Linked DNA regions of Homo sapiens: all the other regions are linked to region 5. Evidence: promoter capture Hi-C in 16 types of primary human blood cells and fetal thymus (Javierre and others, 2016). All regions are on one chromosome and are shown on one strand. Each heading gives the region's core, a stretch centred on a gene start or on the middle of the fragment in contact. The rest is flanking DNA. Distances are from core to core; before and after follow the strand shown.

Region 1 (2,700 bases), core at 82-2,581, 260 kb after region 5:
CCCCACGAGATGAGACGGAACTGCCGTGAGATCCAGCAATGCCAACTGTGGGTCTGACCCAGGAGAACGGAAAGCAGGGACGTGAACAGCCCTCCTCATGTTCTTGACACCGTCATTCTCAGCAGCTCAGCTAAGGCACAGAGGCAGCCGAGCGTCTGTCAGCGGAGTCGTGGCTGAGCAGAACACGCCACACGCCACACGCCACACGCCACACGTGCAGGATTGCTCAAGATGGAAGGGCACAGTGGAATATATATATATATTTATATTTTTGGCGAGACCCTGGAGGACACACTGAATACAATGGAATACCATCCCGCCTTTGAAAGGAAGGGAAATCCTGGCACACGCTGCAACAGGAGGGAGCTTGAGGACACTGTGGTGAGTGGAGCACGTGAGACACGGAAGGACACACGCTGAAGACACGCAGAGATGCCCACCCACGTGGGGAGGTGACAGGGGAGCCCAGCGCACAGAGACAAAGTGGAATGGAGGCCTGGGGGCTGGGAGCAAATGCGGAGCGAGTGCTTCCTGGGGCAGAGTCTCCGTTTGGGAAGATGAGAAGGTTCTGCCGACGGATGCTGGCGATGGTTGCAGAAGAATGTGAATGTGCCCAATGCTACTGAAAAACGGTTACAATGGTAAATTCCTTGTTATGTGTATTTTGCCACAATTTTCCACTTTTTCAATTTTTTTTTCTTGCGATTGAGTCTCACTCTATCGCCCAGGCTGGAGTGCAGTGGCACAATCTCGGCTCACTGCAGCTTCTGCCTCCCAGGTTCAAGGGATTCTCCTGCATCAGCCTCCCAAGTAGCTGGGATTACAGGTGCCCACCACGCCTGGCTAATATTTGTATTTTTAATAGAGATGGGATTTCACCATGTTGGTCAGGCTGGTCTGGAACTCCAGACCTCGGGTGATCCACCTGCCTTGTCCTTCCAAAGCGTTGGGATTGAAGGAATGAACGGCCCATGGGGCCGAATTTTTTTTTTTTTTTTTTTTTTGAGATGGAGTCTTGCTCTGTTGCCCTGGCTGGAGTGCAGTGGCGCAATCTCTGCCTTCCGGGTTCACACCATTCTCCTGCCTCAGCCTCCCAAGTAGCTGGGACTGCAGGCACCTGCCACCACGCCTGTCTAATTTTTGTATTTTTAGTAGAGACGAGTTTTCACCAGGTTAGCCAGGCTGGTCTCGAACGCCTGACCTCTAGTGATCTCCCCACCCTGGCCTCCCAAAGTGCTGGGATTACAGGCGTGAGCCACTGCGCCCAGCTGAATTTTTTAAATGCACAAAAACAAGTGGCCTGGCATGGTGGCTCACACCTGTAATCCCAGCACTTTGGGAGGCCAAGGTGGGCAGATCACCCAAGGTCAGGAGTTCAAGACCAGCCTGGCCAACCTGGTGAAACCTTGTCTCTACTAAAACTACAAAAATTAGATGGGCGTGGTGGCGAGTGCCTGTAGTCCCAGCTACTCGGGAGGCTGAGGCAGGAGAATCACTTGAACTTGGGAGGCAGAGGTTGCAGTAGCAGAGATCACGCCACTGCACTCCAGCCTGGGCATCAACACAGTTTTTTGAGACTACGTCTCAAAAAAAAAAAAAAGAAAAAAAAAGAGCGACACAATGGGGCCGCAGGGCTGACCCCGTTCGGGGTGACTTGCCCCATCGTGCTGGAGGTCAACAGGCCCTCAAGTACAGGAGGGAGGTCAAGGAAACTACGACATTTGCATGTGGAAGGTTCCTGAGGCCAGCGGGCTGGACAGTGCCCAGGGACCCCTGACCTCGCGCCAGGGCACAGCTGAAGTTTGCCCCGCCCGGGGCTGCTGTGGCCCAATAAGTTTGGCAACGCTCTGTCCGTCCGTCAGGTGCTGAGGCCAGGTCTGTCTGCGGCTTCCTGCTGACCTGGAGGTGGGACTCCATGATCTGTAACCACAGAAGGCCCAGAAGCATGAACTCAGCCAGAGTGGGCAGCCAGGACACTGGAGCTGGTGGCGCTGGCAGAGCTTGGGGAAGTCACACCACTGCACACCCTGCGTGACCTCTAGCAACCCCCTGGCTGGAAAGGATGAGTTTCTGACCTCGGAGAGCTGTGTTTGAGGCAGGTTGCTGAGATCACTTTGATCTCCTTTTCTTTTGCCCTCTCCCACATTTAAGGACTTTTGTGATTCCATTGGGCCCACCAGATAGTCCAGAATAATCTCTTTATTTTACTGTCAGCTAGTTAGCAACCTTCATTCAACTTGCAACCTTAGTTCCCCTTTCCCGTGTAACCTGCCATATCTACATGTCCCAAGGATTAGGATTCAGACATCTTTTGGGTGGGGTCATTAGTCTCCTGCCACCGAGAGGAGGGGTATCACATGACATAGTAATAAGAGGATCAATTCACCAAGAAGACAGAACCATCTGTGACTCCTATGCCCCAATTCACAGTAGCTTCAAATACGTAAAGCAAGCACTGGGAGAATACAAGGAGAGGTGGACAAATCCACCACTCCCACAGGAGCTTATAATTATCTTTTTTAGTAATTGATAGTTCACACAGGCAAATATGTGGTAAGACTACAGATTAGCCGGGCGCAGTGGCTCACGCCTGTAATCCCAGCACTTTGGGAGGCCAAGGAGGGCAGATCACCTGAGGTCGGGAGTTCAAGATAAGCCTGACCAACATGGAGAAACCCCATCTCTACTAAAAATACAAAA
Region 2 (2,700 bases), core at 70-2,569, 490 kb after region 5:
GCATGGCATGTAGACAGCATTCTGTGGGCGTCTTGCAGTAAAGATCTATGCCTTTCTTTTCTTTTCTTTTCTTTTTTTTTAATTGAGACAAGGTCTTGCTGTGTCACCCAGGCTAGAGTGCAGTGATATCATCATGGCCCGGACTCCCAGGCCCAACCCAAGGGATCCTCCCACTGTAGCCTCCCCAGTGGCTGGGACTACAGGCCCATGCCACCATGCCTGGCTGATTTTCCCTTAATTTTTTTGTTGTTGTTTTTAAAGAAATGAGGTGTCACTATGTTGCCCAGGCTGGTCTCCATCTCAAATAAATAAATAAAATACCACAGACTGAGTAATTTATAAATACTAAAAATGTATTCCTCACAGTTTTAGGGGCGGGGAAGTCCTAGGTCAAGGCCAGCAGATGTGGTGTCTGGGAGGGATTACACCCTCTTGCTGTGCCCTCACATAGAGGAAGGGGCCAAAAGGCCTAAAGAAAAGAACCCGCTGCCTCAAGCCCTTGTGTAAGAGCACTAATCCCGTCCGCCCTGCCCTGGTCACCTCCCAAAGGCCCTACCTCTTAATACCATCACTTTGCAACTTAAGTTCCAATATATGAATTTTGGATGGACACAAACATTCAAACCATAGCACACACAAAATAAGCTTAAATATTTTATTTTTTGAGACAGGGTCTTGTTTTGTCACCCAGGCTGGAGTGCAGTGGCCCCATCTCAGCTCACTGCAACCTCTGCCTCCTGGGCTCAAGCAATCCACTCACCATGGCCTCCCAAAGTGCTGGGACTACAGGCGTGAGCCACTGCACCTGGTCTTTTAAAATTTTTTTTTTTTTTTTGAGATGGAGTCTCCCTCTGTCGCCCAGGCTGGAGTGCAGTGGCGCGATCTCAGCTCACTGCAAGCTCTGCCTCCCAGGGTCATGCCATTCTCCTGCCTCAGCCTCCCGAGTAGCTGGGACCACAGGCACCCGCTACCACGCCTGGCTAATTTTTTGAATTTTTAGTAGAGACGGGGTTTCACGTGTTAGCCAGGATGGTCACAATCTCCTGACCTCGTGATCCGCCTGCCTTGGCCTCCCAAAGTGCTGGGATTACAGGCGTGAGGCTGAGGCAGGAGAAAGGTGTGAACCCGGGAGACGGAGCCTGCAGTGAGCCAAGATCGTGTCACTGCACTCCAGCCTGGGCGACACAGCGAGACTCTGTCTCAAAAAAAAAAAAAAAAAGAGTGACCACTGGTCGTCCTCACTGCTACACTCCCACCAGCACCATGAGAGTTTACAAATGCCATGGCAACATCAGGAAGTTACCCCTTATGGTCTAAAAAGGAGAGTCATGAATAATACACCCTTTGTTTATCATATAATAAAAATAAAACCATAAAAATGGTCACCCAGCAGCCCTCTGGCCCGCTCTATGGAGTGGCCATTCTTTTATTCCTCTAATTTCTTAATAAATTTGCTTTCGCTTTACTTTGTGGACTCGCCCTGAATTCTTTCTTGCGTGAGATCTAAGAACCCTCTCTTGGGATCTGGATCAGGACCCCTTTCTGGTAACCCCATGAACCACAGACTCACTCTCAGCCCTGGATCCCCATGCCTCTGCCACTGAGGCCTGAGGGACCACCTCTCCCGCCCCTGCCCTGAGCACTCTGGTGTCTCCGGCCAGCCCTTTCTCTCCAAGCCAGGCTCCTCCCACCCTCCCTGCCTTCTCCAGCCGTGTACCAGACACGAACCTGTGGAAGGAGAGCCCGCAGCTCCTGGGGCACCTGCATTCAGCCCAGCCCCTCCTCCCTGCCCCGTCCCTGGCCTCCCCCAGCCCCTGGCGGCTTCTTCTCTGCGGCCTCCTCCTAGTGGCTGGCTGAGCAAAGGACAGGAGGTACTTAGCCTTATCATCTGCCCTGCCCCTCCAGGACTGCAGGCGCCAAGCCCCCTGCACGCCCCTACTTCCCCGATGGGACCTCCCTGCTCCCAGCCAGTCAGCCTCCCAGGGAAGCTTAAGGCTGCTGCCTGGCTCCAGGGCGACGGCTGTTGGTGCTGGGGCCCAAGACGCAGGAGAGATTCAGACAGCACTTGGGGCCACACAAGACAGTGCCTGGGACGTGTGAAGCACCGCCCTCCCCTGGACGTGAGTCCACCCCAGGGCTTCAACGCCAGCCTGTGCCCACCTCACGCAGGCCTTTCTCCGCGGCTCAGGTGCTTCCTCCCCCCCACCGAAGCGCTGGTGCTAAGGTCACCGCCCTGCCCCACCGTCACTGTTCACTGATACCAGTCCTGGGCGCCCTCCTCGCAGCCCCTGCCCCACTCCACACCGGATCGACCACCAAGGCCTCTGCCTCCTACGCATCCCCAACGCCTTTTCCTTCCTTCCCGCGGACCTGCGGGGCGGGGGCGGGCCTGGCGTTTTTGAGCTGGACCCGAGCAGCCTCCCGGTGACTCCCCTGCTGTTGCCACCTCCTCATTCTCCACTCAAGAGACAAAGCGACCTCCCCGAATGCAAACCCGACCAGCCGCACTCCTTAAAATCCTTCGACGCTTCCCATTTCTCCCAGGGAAAAACTCCCCCACTCCTCCCCACCTGTGTCCGCGGCCCCTGCAGGACTGAGAGTCCGAGGTCTCCGCGCCGTCACCTCCCCCGACGCCCTTCCAGCTTCCCTGGGAGCCCGGGGCCATCCTCCGAGCCCACCCGCCCCCTCACCCCCGCAGAC
Region 3 (2,700 bases), core at 123-2,622, 380 kb after region 5:
GTCCCCTGGGGGCTCATGAGCAGGGGAAGTGGGAAGGGAAATTTGGTGGACACTCATCCCAGTTAAGCAAGGCCATCACCCTCTCCCTTCCCAGGGCTTCCTGCCTTCTCTACTCCAACTTGTGTGTGCCAGACAAGCTAGGTGAGTGCAGCCCAGGGGGAGGAGTCTGCTTGGCTCCATGGGGCTTTTGTCCCTCTCTGATCCAAGAGTCAAGGCCTGGGATAGTGGGGACCTTGGTGCTAGAGGCCAGAGAGACAGCTGTCCCAGCATGTGAGGAGTGGCTGAGCAGCAGGGGCCCCCACAGGGTTCTCGCGTGGCCTTGGTTCTCTGTGTATGAGTTATCTATGCTGCATAAGAACATCACTACAAATTAGCAACTTAAAACAACACACATTTATGATCTCCCAGTTTCTGTGGATCAGGAGCCCAAGTGTGGCTTTGTTGGGTTCTCTGCTCAAGGTCCCATTAGGCTACAATCAAGATGTCAGCTGGGGCTGTGGTCTCCCCTTCAGGTATGACCAGGAAAGCAGCCACTTCTGAAGCTCACGTTGTTGCTAGCCACACTCAACTCCTTGTGGATGGGATGATTGAGGGCCCCAGTTTCTTGCTAGTTGGGGGCTGGAGGCAACCCCAGTACCCTGCTACATGGGCCTCTTCATAGGACAGCTCATAGCCTAGCAGCTCACTTTTTAAAGCTAGCAAGGGATAGACTGCTATTCCTTGATAATGTTATAATCTTATGTCACATGATCACAAGGTGTCACAGGAGTGACATCCCCTTACCTCTGTATTCTATTGGTTACAACAAGGCACAGGTCCTGCACACACTCAAGGTGAGATCACACAAGGGCATGCATACCAGCAGGTGGGGGTCAAGGGAGCCATTCTAGAGTCTGTCTGCTATAGCCCAGAAGGGGCCACATTGTGGCACCCTCCTGGGGTCTCCCAAGCCTTGTCAAGCTGGATTTCCTTTGGAATAGGCATCTGCCTTGAAGCAGGCCTCTGTCAGTGCCACTGAGGTGTGACTGCCAGTCCCCAGGTGTGTGGAAAGAGGCCTTTCACTGGCTGAGGGCCACCAGCCAGTTGTCCAAATCACAGCCTGGAGCACAGAGCCCTCCTAGAACATAGTTGGCAGGCCAAGAGAGCAGGCCAAGTGCTCTGAGACACATTCAGGTATAAGGCCAAGAACCAGGGAGCAAACCCACACGTGCAACCCTGGAGGGCAGAGCTTAGTCTGGGATGATATCGGCTTCTGAGCCAGGTGTTGCCACGAAGCTTTTTGCCAGATGGTTACTGAGGAGATATGGAGCATGAATGAGGGATAGGAAGCCACAGGGAGCAGCCACTGCAACTGCCAGAGCTTGGCTTGGCCAAGTGCAGCTCACACACAAAGCAGCCCCCAGAAGCTCCTGAAGGCCTTGCAGGGCTATGTGGATCCCTATCCCCCTGCAGCATCTGCAGCAAGCTTTTCACAAGCTTGGGCAGGGAGGCAGGATGGGTGTAGGAGATTTCTGCACAGACAGAATGCTGAAGTCTAAGGTGTCCTTTAGATGGGGGAAGTATGAGGTCACTAATCGAACAGAAAAGTAACTTGTACTGTACCTGAGATGAACTTTGCTAGCTTTCCCCAAAGCAAAGAGGGAAGAGGAAGATATGGCTGAGTTCACAGTGTGGCAGGGACACAAATGTAGGAAAGAAAAAAGTAGAGAAGGGTAGGAAAAGGAGAGAAGTAGAGAAGGGTAGGAAAGTGGTGCCTCAAGACCGGGAGAGCATTCGGGGCACCCTGGGGTCCATTCAGCATCCAGTGCTCCTTCATACCGCTGAGCCATCCCTGAACTCCAGCCTAGCATGGCCCCATGGACCTCCACCAGGGGAGGGTACCCTGTGGTCTTGGTCAGGAACCATCAGGTGAGATAAGCCAGGGTGTTTTGAGAATCCTTCTGACCCAGCATTCATAGCAGAAGAGTGGGAACTGAGTTGCCAAACCTGGGTTCAAATCCTGCATCTGCAGGACAGGTGCCCAGGTGGCTCCCAGGATAGGGTGAGTTCCAGTGGAGCTGCATCCAAGTCCTGGTCTCAGACTGGAGTCACCTTCCTGCCCTCCAGCTCAAATGCTGGTCCTCTCAGCCCCATCCACCAACCCTGGGCACTGCATCCCCAGGACAAGCCTGCCCCCACATGCTTGGACCCACCCTGCACAACAGCCCACAAACCACACAGCCTTGTGCACCCCTACCCTCGCCCGCCTGTCTCCCCAGCCCGCACGCAGGACCTGTCCCCTCAGCCGCGGGTCCCCTCCCGCCCTCCCCGTCCCCTCAGCCCCGGGTCGCCTCCCGCCCTCCCCGTCCCCTCAGCCGCGGGTCCCCTCCCGCCCTCCCCGTCCCCTCAGCCGCGGGTCCCCTCCCACCCTCCCCTCACTCAGCCCCGGATCGCCTCACATCCTCCCCGTCCCCTCAGTCGCAGGTCCCCTCCCGCCCTCCCGGTCCCCTCAGCCCCGCTCCCCTCCCGCCCTCCCCTCACTCAGCCCCGGGTCGCCTCCCGCCCTCCCGGTCCCCTCAGCCGCGGGTCCCCTCCCGCCCTCCCTGTCCCCTCAGCCGCGGGTCCCCTCCCACCCTCCCCTCACTCAGCCGCGGGTCGCCTCCCGCCCTCCCGGTCCCCTCAGCCGCGGGTCCCCTCCCGCCCTTCCCTCACTCAGCCGCG
Region 4 (2,700 bases), core at 67-2,566, 330 kb after region 5:
CAGCTCAGGTGGCCCCCACCTGGCCTTCGTGTGACCCATTTCTGCAGCCTCCTCTGCCAACTCATTGCTTCCCTGGCCTCAGGATGGGACTGCCAACCACATGGCCAGGGACGAAGGCCAGGAGAGAAGCAGACGCTCTGGGGCTGTCAGCCCCCTCCCTGGCCAGCACGCCACAGCATTCGAGGGCTGTAGGCCTCTTGGTGTGTACACGTCCCACTCAACATGGTGACCACAGCACAGCAGAAATACCTCAGAAGGTGGGACGGCAGAAGTTCCTGTCACCCAAGGTCCACCCTGGCATGGTTGGTGAGAACTGCACTCTTTTGGGGCAGAAGTGGTTCTCGGTGGCTGGGGTTCTGTGGGTCCCTCGAGGAGTTCAAGGGACTGTGAGAATTGTCCAGACTTGGCTGAAGATTCCCGAAAGCCTTCAAACTCCCCCCAAGTGCTGCTGTGTTCCCCAGGGTCAGGACATCGGGCAGTGCAGGTGGAACCGCCCTCACGGGGCATGGAGATGCTGGCTTTCCCATCGGACAGGAGAAGGTCGGGGCAGGTCCGTCTCCATTCCAAACTGTCATCACTCAGCCTCTCAGGTGCCACTCGGAGGGAAGCGCTGGCTGCTTCCTCCTGGAGGTCACTCAAAGGCTCTCCCCCCAGCTCCCGCCGGCCTTGCATCTTGGAGCCCCCAGGCCAGCAGAGGCCCGATGGGCAGCTGCTCAGGAGACATGCACGCCGGGGTGCTGGCCGCCCAGGACTGCCCAACCTTCCCCTGCCCTGGAGAGGGCCAGGGGACGCTGCAGGAGTGCCCCGGGCTGCCCAGTGGCTGACGGTGGAAAGTGCCCACGTGCTGCTGTGGAACTGACACAAACCACAGGAATGGCCCGGTCGCCCGGGAGTCCTGGCTTCCTCCCACGCAGGCGGGCGCGGAGTCCGACACAGAGGCGCGTACCAGACCCACGGCAGGTGTGAGAGGGGCGGCCCAAGGTGGGGCTCCTGCTCTGGAGAGAGCCGCGAGGGGGCCTGGGAGGCCCACGCTGGCCAGAGGAGCGAGAGCCGGGCGCCCGCGGGAGTCCCAAGTGGGAAGGAGTGGGTGCGGCGCCCCGGGGCCTCCCGAGAGTCCCTCTCGCACGCGGCCCGCAGAGCAGCCCTGGAACGCCTGGGCCTGGACAGGGCCCGAGGTGGCCGGCTAAGCGCCTGGCCCACGGCTCCCGAGAGTCCCCGCACCCACCTTGGTCGCCGCCTCGGCGGGGCCGCGCGGGACCAGGGCGAGAGAAACCTGCAACCAGCCGTTCCCTCCTGCCTGCGCCGCCCCGTTGCCTGGCAACGGCGTGCGCCAGCTCCGCTTCCGGCGTCCGTCGCCGTGGCGTCAGCACGCATCCGGGGCGAGGCCAGCGCCGGCCCCCGCCGTTCAGGACCCGCCCCGGACCCGCCCTCCCTGCCCCGGGCCGCCTCCGCTGCGGGTGGGATCGGGCTTCCACACTGGCCGAGCCCTGGGCGCCGGGCCGCTCGAGCTTTCTGTCCGTGCTCAGTTCGCCGCCCGAGTGGTTCTTTCTTTTTTTTTTTTTTCTTTTTTTTTTGAGACGGAGTCTCGCTCTGTCGCCCAGGCTGGAGAGCAGTGGCGCGATCTCGACTCACTGCAAGCTCCGCCTCCCGGGTTCACGCCATTCTCCTGCCTCAGCCTCCCGAGTAGCTGGGACTACAGGCGCCCGCCACCACGCCCGGCTGATTTTTTTGTATTTTAATAGAGACTGGGTTTCACCGTGTTAGCCAGGATGGTCTCGATTTCCTGACCTCGTGATCCGCCCGCCTCGGCCTCCCAAAGTGCTGGGATTACAGGCTTGAGCCACTGGGCCTGGCCCTAGAGTGGTTCTTTCTTCCTCACGACGAGCTCCCCAGGTCCGTCCCAGCGCACCCGTCACCCGCAGCCCCTTCTCCCGGCGCCCCGCAGCCTAACTTGCCGCGCCGCCGACCCCTCTGTGGGTGCAGCTGAGCGACGGCCCCTCAGGACCCCACCTGTCCCTGGCGAGAGCCAAGTCCGTCTTGCTGACTCCTGAATCCCAAAACCTCGCCCGCCCCTAACTCGTCCCCATTCCTGGGGGAAGGAGCTGCGGGGAGGCTCCACCCCTCCCTCGCAGGCCGCATGGAGTGCTCCCCTCCTTTGTCACCAGCCAGACCCGGGCAGAGCAGGGCTGACGGACAGCCCCTCTCCAGCCACTGGACGACCAAGGAGCTAGGCTGGCCTCTGGCAGCTCCCCTCCGGGCTTCCAGGCCTTCTGCCATCTGCCCTCACCCCCAGACTCAAGGAGTCAACCTTGACTCCATCTCCTCCCTGGCCTTCCCAGACTGGCCCCCATCACTGCCTCCTCTGGGTAAGGGGAGGGCCTGGCCCTGGTGAAGCCCTGAACCATGCCACCTACTGTCCACCCCCTATCTACCTCAGGCTCGCATTTCTCCCACCCTGGGGCCTGGGGCCCTGCCTGGACTCTGTCCTTGCTTGAATCACCCCTTCCCTCCCTGGTCCTTCTCAGCCAAGCTACAGAACAATTTAATTTTACAAATGACAAGATGAGATCATTCTCTGCACCTTAGACCCAGCCTCCTGTCCCCGCTCCTTCCTGAGGGGCAGAGCAGCCGGGCCATGCAGTATGGAAGCTCTTCGGTCAGACTGCCCAGGACTGGATCTTGGCTTGGCCACCCCAGCAC
Region 5 (2,700 bases), core at 188-2,687:
GGTGGGCATCCTTCCTGTCCACTCAGCAAAACCAAAGCCCCGAGGTCCCAACCCTGCGCTCCAGGAGGGCAAGCCCCACTGTCCAGCGGCTCTGCAACTCCAACACCACGCTCAGAGATGCAGGCTGTGGGAGCCACAGGAAAGCACGGAGAGGCCCACCTGCAGCTGACTAGGGGTGGAACAACTCAATGCCACGTGGGGTCCCCTCCAGGCATACTGGCCACTTCCAGTGCCTGGAAGGTCCGCTCACCCTCCCATCTCCCCAGGGAGAACTCTCACTACCCCCAACCGCCTCCTCTTCTCGCCTGCTGTCTATTCTAGAACCAGAACTTTTCCGGAGAGCGTGTCTCTCTCCTCCTTAGCCTGGGAGCTTCCTGAGCAGGAACTACCAAGTCACGAAGAAATTACAAAAGTTTCAAACTGAGCAGGAGACTCAGGGAAGCTGCAAGTCCAAGGAAGGCTGGGCTATGGCCGGAGGGTAAACCCTGTCCAATCGTTACCGCTGGGCGACCGGGCGCCCCCCTACCAAGTGCAGAACAGCCAGTCTTCCGCAATGGCAAGATCAACTGGGAGGCGCAAATAGCAGTACTGGCTTGGCGACGCCTCTAAATGAGAGACAGCGCCAACCAGGTACCCGCGAGGACGACCCCGCCCCGCAGGACAGGGCATCTCCACCGCGCGCTGGACGGAGGATACAACCGAGTCCTGCGCGCCCCGTGCGCCGGGGGTCGCTCCCAGGCCGAGGTCTGACAGTGTCGCCGAACGCGAAAGGAAGCGTGTGGTACCCGAGAGAGGAAGCACCCTCGTCACCCCGGCCGGCACCGCATTGAGGCAGGTGTGCAGGTGCGGTTGCGGCGAGCCAGGTGAGCGCCGCCCGGGAGCCCCAAGGTCCCGCCGGGTCTGAGCAGCACCGGGTCCTCGGAAGCTGAGCGCGGCCCCCGGTGCTCGGGACCTGGGGGGCTGGGGCCGCGCTTGCCGGAGCTGCGGGGGGGCGGCGGCTGCACGCGTCGAACCGGCGGGCGGGGGCGCGGGGGGCGACCTGGGCTCCGCTGGGGGACCCGGGCCGGGGATGGGGCGCGCAGAGGCCGCGGCCAGGACACCCCCAGCAGGTGCCCGGCGGGAACAAAGCGCGGCGGGCGGCGCGTACCTGGGCACGCAGCTGGGGCTGGAGCCGTCCACCTCCCAGGTGGCGAACAGGTTCATGGGCACGGGCGTGTTGAGCGCGCCGGGCGCGCCGGGGAGGCCGAGGCGGCCTCGCTCGGCCATGGCGCCGGCCCCGCCGCTCCCTCGGCGGCCTGGGGCTGCGGCCGGGCCGCGGACGCGCGGCGGGCGGGCCGGGCGCGCGGAGGGCGGCGGCGCGGTCACATGGCTGCCGGGCGGCGGAGGGGACGGGCCGGGCCCCGGCGTCGGACAGGCCCGCGGGCGGCGACGAGCTGCGGCCGCTCCGCCCCGCCCCGCCCGGCGCCCCGCCCGCGCCCCGCGCGCCCCCGGCCGCCCCGCGCGCGCCCGGCGCCCTCCGACCCGCGCCGGCGCCGCCGATTGGCTGGGCGGGGCGCCAGCTCGCCGCCTCGGGTCCAATCGCCGCCGGCGCAGCGCGCGCCGGAAGTGAGGTGCGCGCGCGCTTCCTCCGGCGGCGCCTCACGGGGCGTCCCCGCCCGCCGGTGCGCGAGAGCGCGCACTCACGCGCCTGCGCACAGACCCCGCCCGGGGCGCCCCGCCCCGCCCCCCGGGAGCCGCGGGCAAGGGCCGGGAGAGTCGTGGGGGTCCACCGGGTCCCGGCCAGCTTCAGGCGCCGCCCCCTAAGGAAAGCTCATCGTCGCCCTGGCGATGCCCACCTCCCCACGCGCGGATTCCCCGGCCTCGACACTTTCCCGCCTCCACCCCGCCATGCCCCGAGTCTCCCCGCCCCCCTGCCCTCGCCGCCCCTTGTCTCCTGCCGACCCCCGCTGGGTTGGCCCGGCTGTGCGGGCCCCGCCCGTCCCCGAGCCCCTCCCTCGCGCCCCCCTGCGTGGGTTCCCCGGGACGCAGGGAGGTGGCAAGGAGGTGGCCGGGCCTGGCGGCGGTCGCGGGGACTCGAAGCCACTCGGGGCGCCAGGCTGCCGAGCTTAGCCTCCAGGGCTCCAGATGACCCCGGGCGCCCTCTTTGCGTCCCAGCATCCTTATTCAGCGCCGCTTTTCAGCGTTGTGCTCAGGACAATGGAGAACAAATGTCTGGGGCCAAGGCTGGCTCCTGGCCCTGGGGTTAACAGTGAACTTGGGGACCCAAGCAAAGAGGAGGCAATGGCTAGAGCCGCTGGGGCCCGACGTGTAGGCTCTGGGGCTCAGGGAGGGTGCTTCCCCCATCTGTTTGGCAGCGGCTGTGGTCCAGCACCAGATGCCAAGCCGAGATTTAGGAAACGGTTTTCTGGCCTCTCTTCTGTTTCCTTGTTTCACAGTTAGTTTACAGTTGCTTTTCTCTTCGCCCTGTGTCTTGTCTACAAGTAGTTTTACTGAAACAAATCCAGCCCGAGCAAATTGACCTGGAGCTGGTTTCTTTCCTGGCCCACGGGGCTTGCCACCCCAGTGCCCCGTCAGCTCCTTCTGCAAAGGCCCTCATGCCGCTGCTTCCTCCGTTGAGAGAGCTCAGCCTCCAGCTGTAACTCCTGTATCTAGAACTGCAAACAGCTGCGACTGCTTAAAGTCAGGGTCCCACTTCGGAGA
Region 6 (2,700 bases), core at 88-2,587, 300 kb after region 5:
TATTAGGGTGATTTCTGACGGTCACGTATTGCTAGTGCTGCCCTTAGGACCGCTGACAGCACCAGGCCAAGCACTGAATTCATCCTCTTAAGATCCCCAGTGGGAGGCTTCTAGTATCCATATCTGGCTTTCAGAAAAGGGCGGGAGGGTCTGTCGTTGGGTTTGGACTCAGGACCTGGCATTTCTAAGGACTCAGAGGAAAGGAAAGTGGGACCCAGAGGGTCCTAGGAGCTTGGGACAGCTTCTTGAACTGGTTCCCAGTGTGGTTGTGGGTCTTCTTGGCCTGTCCCATTGGTATTCTTGTTCCTTCTGTGAGTTGCCCTGATTGCCCTGCTCAGTCGTGCTGACCTCCTGTAGGCCCCACATTATGGGGGTTGTGCTGCTGGGTTTCCAGAGTCAGGGGAGGCAGCCAGGGGTTCTTCTGTCTATAAACTTGGGCTTAATGCATGCTGTTCAAGAGGATTTGGTTTGGGTCCTAAATTAATCCATTGCTATGCAGGCTTGGGATTGAGATAGGTTGAAAGAGAAACTAAAAACCTAAAAGGTATATTGACTTCCCACAGAGGAACCCGTGGGACTTAATCTTTTCCCCAACGCAGGGTGTCCTTTGTAGTTTGACATAGCCTTATGTTAATTCTCGATATACTTAGCAATTTTAAGCCAGTGATTTAAACAATGGATTGGGATGGAAAAGCTCTGAAAAGTTAAATTTGTGGCTGACACAAAGAACTCGAATATTTACCAAAAGTAATAGAAATGTGTAAATGTGTTTTGGTGGTAAACTGTCCTTCATTTAGAATTAGTTGAGAAGCTGGTGTATGCAGGTGTGAGAGGCGGTGCCCAGCCTGAGGGCTGTGCCTGTGGTGACACTGGCATGCTGCTCTGGGGAAATGGGTGCTGTAGGGGAAATAAGCTAGGGTTAGGGAAGTTTTCCTTTAATTTTAATTTTGAAATAATTGTAGAGCCAGGGGAGGTTGCAGAGCAGTGTTCAGGAGGTCCTATGTGCCCTTCCTCTGCTCCCCAGGGCCGGCATCCTTGTAGGATGCACAGCCAGGCCCCAGGTCCGTGTGATGACACGGCTGCCGCAGGCGCATGTGTGCGTGTCCGGCGCTGTGCAGTCAGGGTAGGGCCACCCCCACAGCCCAGGAGCAGAAGGGCCCTCACCCCCAAGATCTCCCTGCGCAGGTTCCTTTCTAGCCCTGCCACCCCTCAGCTCTGGGTCAGCATGACAATGTGGCATAAATGGGATCCCATAGCAAGCACCCTTCTGAGGTTGGCTTTTCTCCCTCAGCCTAATGCCCCTGTGGAAGGATCCGTCCTGTGTATCAACAGTTCATTTCTTTCTATTGCAGAGTAGGATTTGGTGGCATGAATGGAGCAGAGTGTGTGTCACCGTGCCCAGGTGAAGGGTACATTTTCCTTGTTTCAGATTTGGAGCTACTACAAATAAAGCTGCTGTGCACATTCTGGAACATGTTTTTTGCATGAACATTGGCTTTTTCTCTGGGATAAATGCCCAAGAGGTCACTTAGTTTTTTAAAATTTACATGTGTTAAAGGCACGGGGATGAGATCTGTGACACTGAAGGGAAATTCAGAGAACAGGGGGACCCTTTCTTCTGTTAATTCAAGGGTAGGACCAGCAGGTGGGAGCCTCCAGAGGGGCTCCTGGGAAGGGGTATGTTTGGCAGCCAGTTCTCCCGCACTGCAAAACTTCCCATCCTTGGTCTCCAGACCCCGAGCAGAGACAGCATGTGCCTCCCATACGCCAGCTTTCCAAGAGCACCTGGGTATACCCTGGTCACAGGGAGCCATCAGATTGACTAAGAGAAAAAGAAGTTCCAAAGTTTGCATATTCAAAAGATTGTAACCCTATTTATGCATAACTTGAATTATTTGAAATAATATTTCACTACATTACAAGCATGAGAAGAGAGAAACTTAATCATGCGTGAGATGCTTGTCCTGTCAGACTCTGCCGGCCAGTATGGCCCTGAGCCAGCTGTCATCCTCCCAGCTCCCCGCAGGCGGCACTGGCTCAGAATGGCATCTGTCAAAAGCCAGAGCCCACCCTCCTGTCTGCTCTGCCTTTAGTGCCCCAGAGATGTCCCAATTTAGAATCAGTTAAAAAAAAAAAAAAACAGTTTGCACAGACTTGTACTTCTGAGAGTAGACATGGCCAATGTCCATCTAGTGCATCTGTGCTGTGCGTCTTAGTGGAACCTGCCCAGCAAGGCTGAGCCTTAGGTGCCATCCCGGAGTTGCCCAGGTCTGGGGTAAGATCCAGGAATCTGCATCTTCAACCAACAGCGCCAGTGCTGAGGCATACGCCGAGAAACACTGCCTTGGCCAGCTCTGGGCTGCCACAACACACTGGTGAGGAACCCACCCCCCCTGCCCCGGACACACACATACCCTGCCATGTTTTGGTTCCTTTGAAGAGAAAGGAGTTGAGATGAGAGGGGAGGTGGCCCCTGAGGCCATGGTTGTACGGGCTGGTCAGAGCTCTCGAGTGGAGGGCATTGACCTGAGAGATGTCAAGTAGAAAGCAGCCAGGCAGAGCCTGTGCACCTTGGGAGAAATGAACTGGTGGGGCGGGTGGGGGGAGCCAAGGAATGGGTGTGATCCCTAAGGCAGGCAGCATGGGCGGGTGTGGGAGCAAGGGACTGTCCAGGGCCACATAGGCTCGGCCAGGAGACCC

Evidence for each region. Contacts are between HindIII fragments. The CHiCAGO score rates a contact against its expected background, and 5 or more counts as called.
Region 1: a contact is called between a fragment that was not itself captured here and the fragment with the promoter of PACS2 in region 5, in 10 of 17 cell types (naive CD8 T cells, non-activated CD4 T cells, total CD8 T cells and 7 more). The highest score is 10.7, in naive CD8 T cells.
Region 2: a contact is called between a fragment that was not itself captured here and the fragment with the promoter of PACS2 in region 5, in 1 of 17 cell types (non-activated CD4 T cells). The highest score is 6.4, in non-activated CD4 T cells.
Region 3: a contact is called between a fragment that was not itself captured here and the fragment with the promoter of PACS2 in region 5, in 7 of 17 cell types (total CD8 T cells, naive CD4 T cells, non-activated CD4 T cells and 4 more). The highest score is 7.3, in total CD8 T cells.
Region 4: the fragment with the promoter of CLBA1 here is called in contact with the fragment with the promoter of PACS2 in region 5 in 2 of 17 cell types (neutrophils and naive B cells); the score reaches 6.2 in neutrophils.
Region 6: a contact is called between a fragment that was not itself captured here and the fragment with the promoter of PACS2 in region 5, in 5 of 17 cell types (neutrophils, non-activated CD4 T cells, naive CD4 T cells and 2 more). The highest score is 7.9, in neutrophils.

What each region holds. Positions count from the first base shown.
Region 1 is chr14:105,053,328-105,056,027 of GRCh38, reverse strand. It overlaps GPR132 (G protein-coupled receptor 132), which reads left to right. Exons shown (of 4, transcript NM_013345.4): 3 at 1-641. The coding sequence starts at 608. LOC124903398 (a long non-coding RNA gene) reads right to left here. Exons shown (of 2, transcript XR_007064368.1): 2 at 251-619. Among named protein-coding and RNA genes, the nearest start is that of GPR132, 11 kb to the left of the region's middle. RefSeq lists an enhancer at 1-418. The HindIII fragment of the contact is 5,027 bases long and covers 1-2,700 here.
Region 2 is chr14:104,826,936-104,829,635 of GRCh38, reverse strand. No RefSeq gene overlaps it. Among named protein-coding and RNA genes, the nearest start is that of VESTAR, 7.1 kb to the right of the region's middle. RefSeq lists enhancers at 1,199-1,984, 1,985-2,700. The HindIII fragment of the contact is 1,343 bases long and covers 648-1,990 here.
Region 3 is chr14:104,933,693-104,936,392 of GRCh38, reverse strand. It overlaps a transcript of PLD4 not described here. Among named protein-coding and RNA genes, the nearest start is that of PLD4, 10 kb to the right of the region's middle. The HindIII fragment of the contact is 190 bases long and covers 1,278-1,467 here.
Region 4 is chr14:104,984,404-104,987,103 of GRCh38, reverse strand. It overlaps CLBA1 (clathrin binding box of aftiphilin containing 1), which reads right to left and starts at 1,316. Exons shown (of 5, transcript NM_174891.4): 1 at 250-1,316. The coding sequence starts at 672. RefSeq lists a silencer at 1,058-1,527. The HindIII fragment of the contact is 10,527 bases long and covers 1-2,700 here.
Region 5 is chr14:105,313,485-105,316,184 of GRCh38, reverse strand. It overlaps PACS2 (phosphofurin acidic cluster sorting protein 2), which reads right to left and starts at 1,437. Exons shown (of 25, transcript NM_001100913.3): 1 at 1,148-1,437. The coding sequence starts at 1,266. It also overlaps a transcript of BRF1 not described here. RefSeq lists silencers at 816-895, 1,126-1,215, 1,356-1,885, 1,986-2,075 and an enhancer at 420-1,071. The HindIII fragment of the contact is 4,816 bases long and covers 1-2,700 here.
Region 6 is chr14:105,012,641-105,015,340 of GRCh38, reverse strand. All of the region lies in intron 1 of CDCA4 (cell division cycle associated 4), which reads left to right. Among named protein-coding and RNA genes, the nearest start is that of CDCA4, 7.1 kb to the left of the region's middle. The HindIII fragment of the contact is 5,093 bases long and covers 1-2,700 here.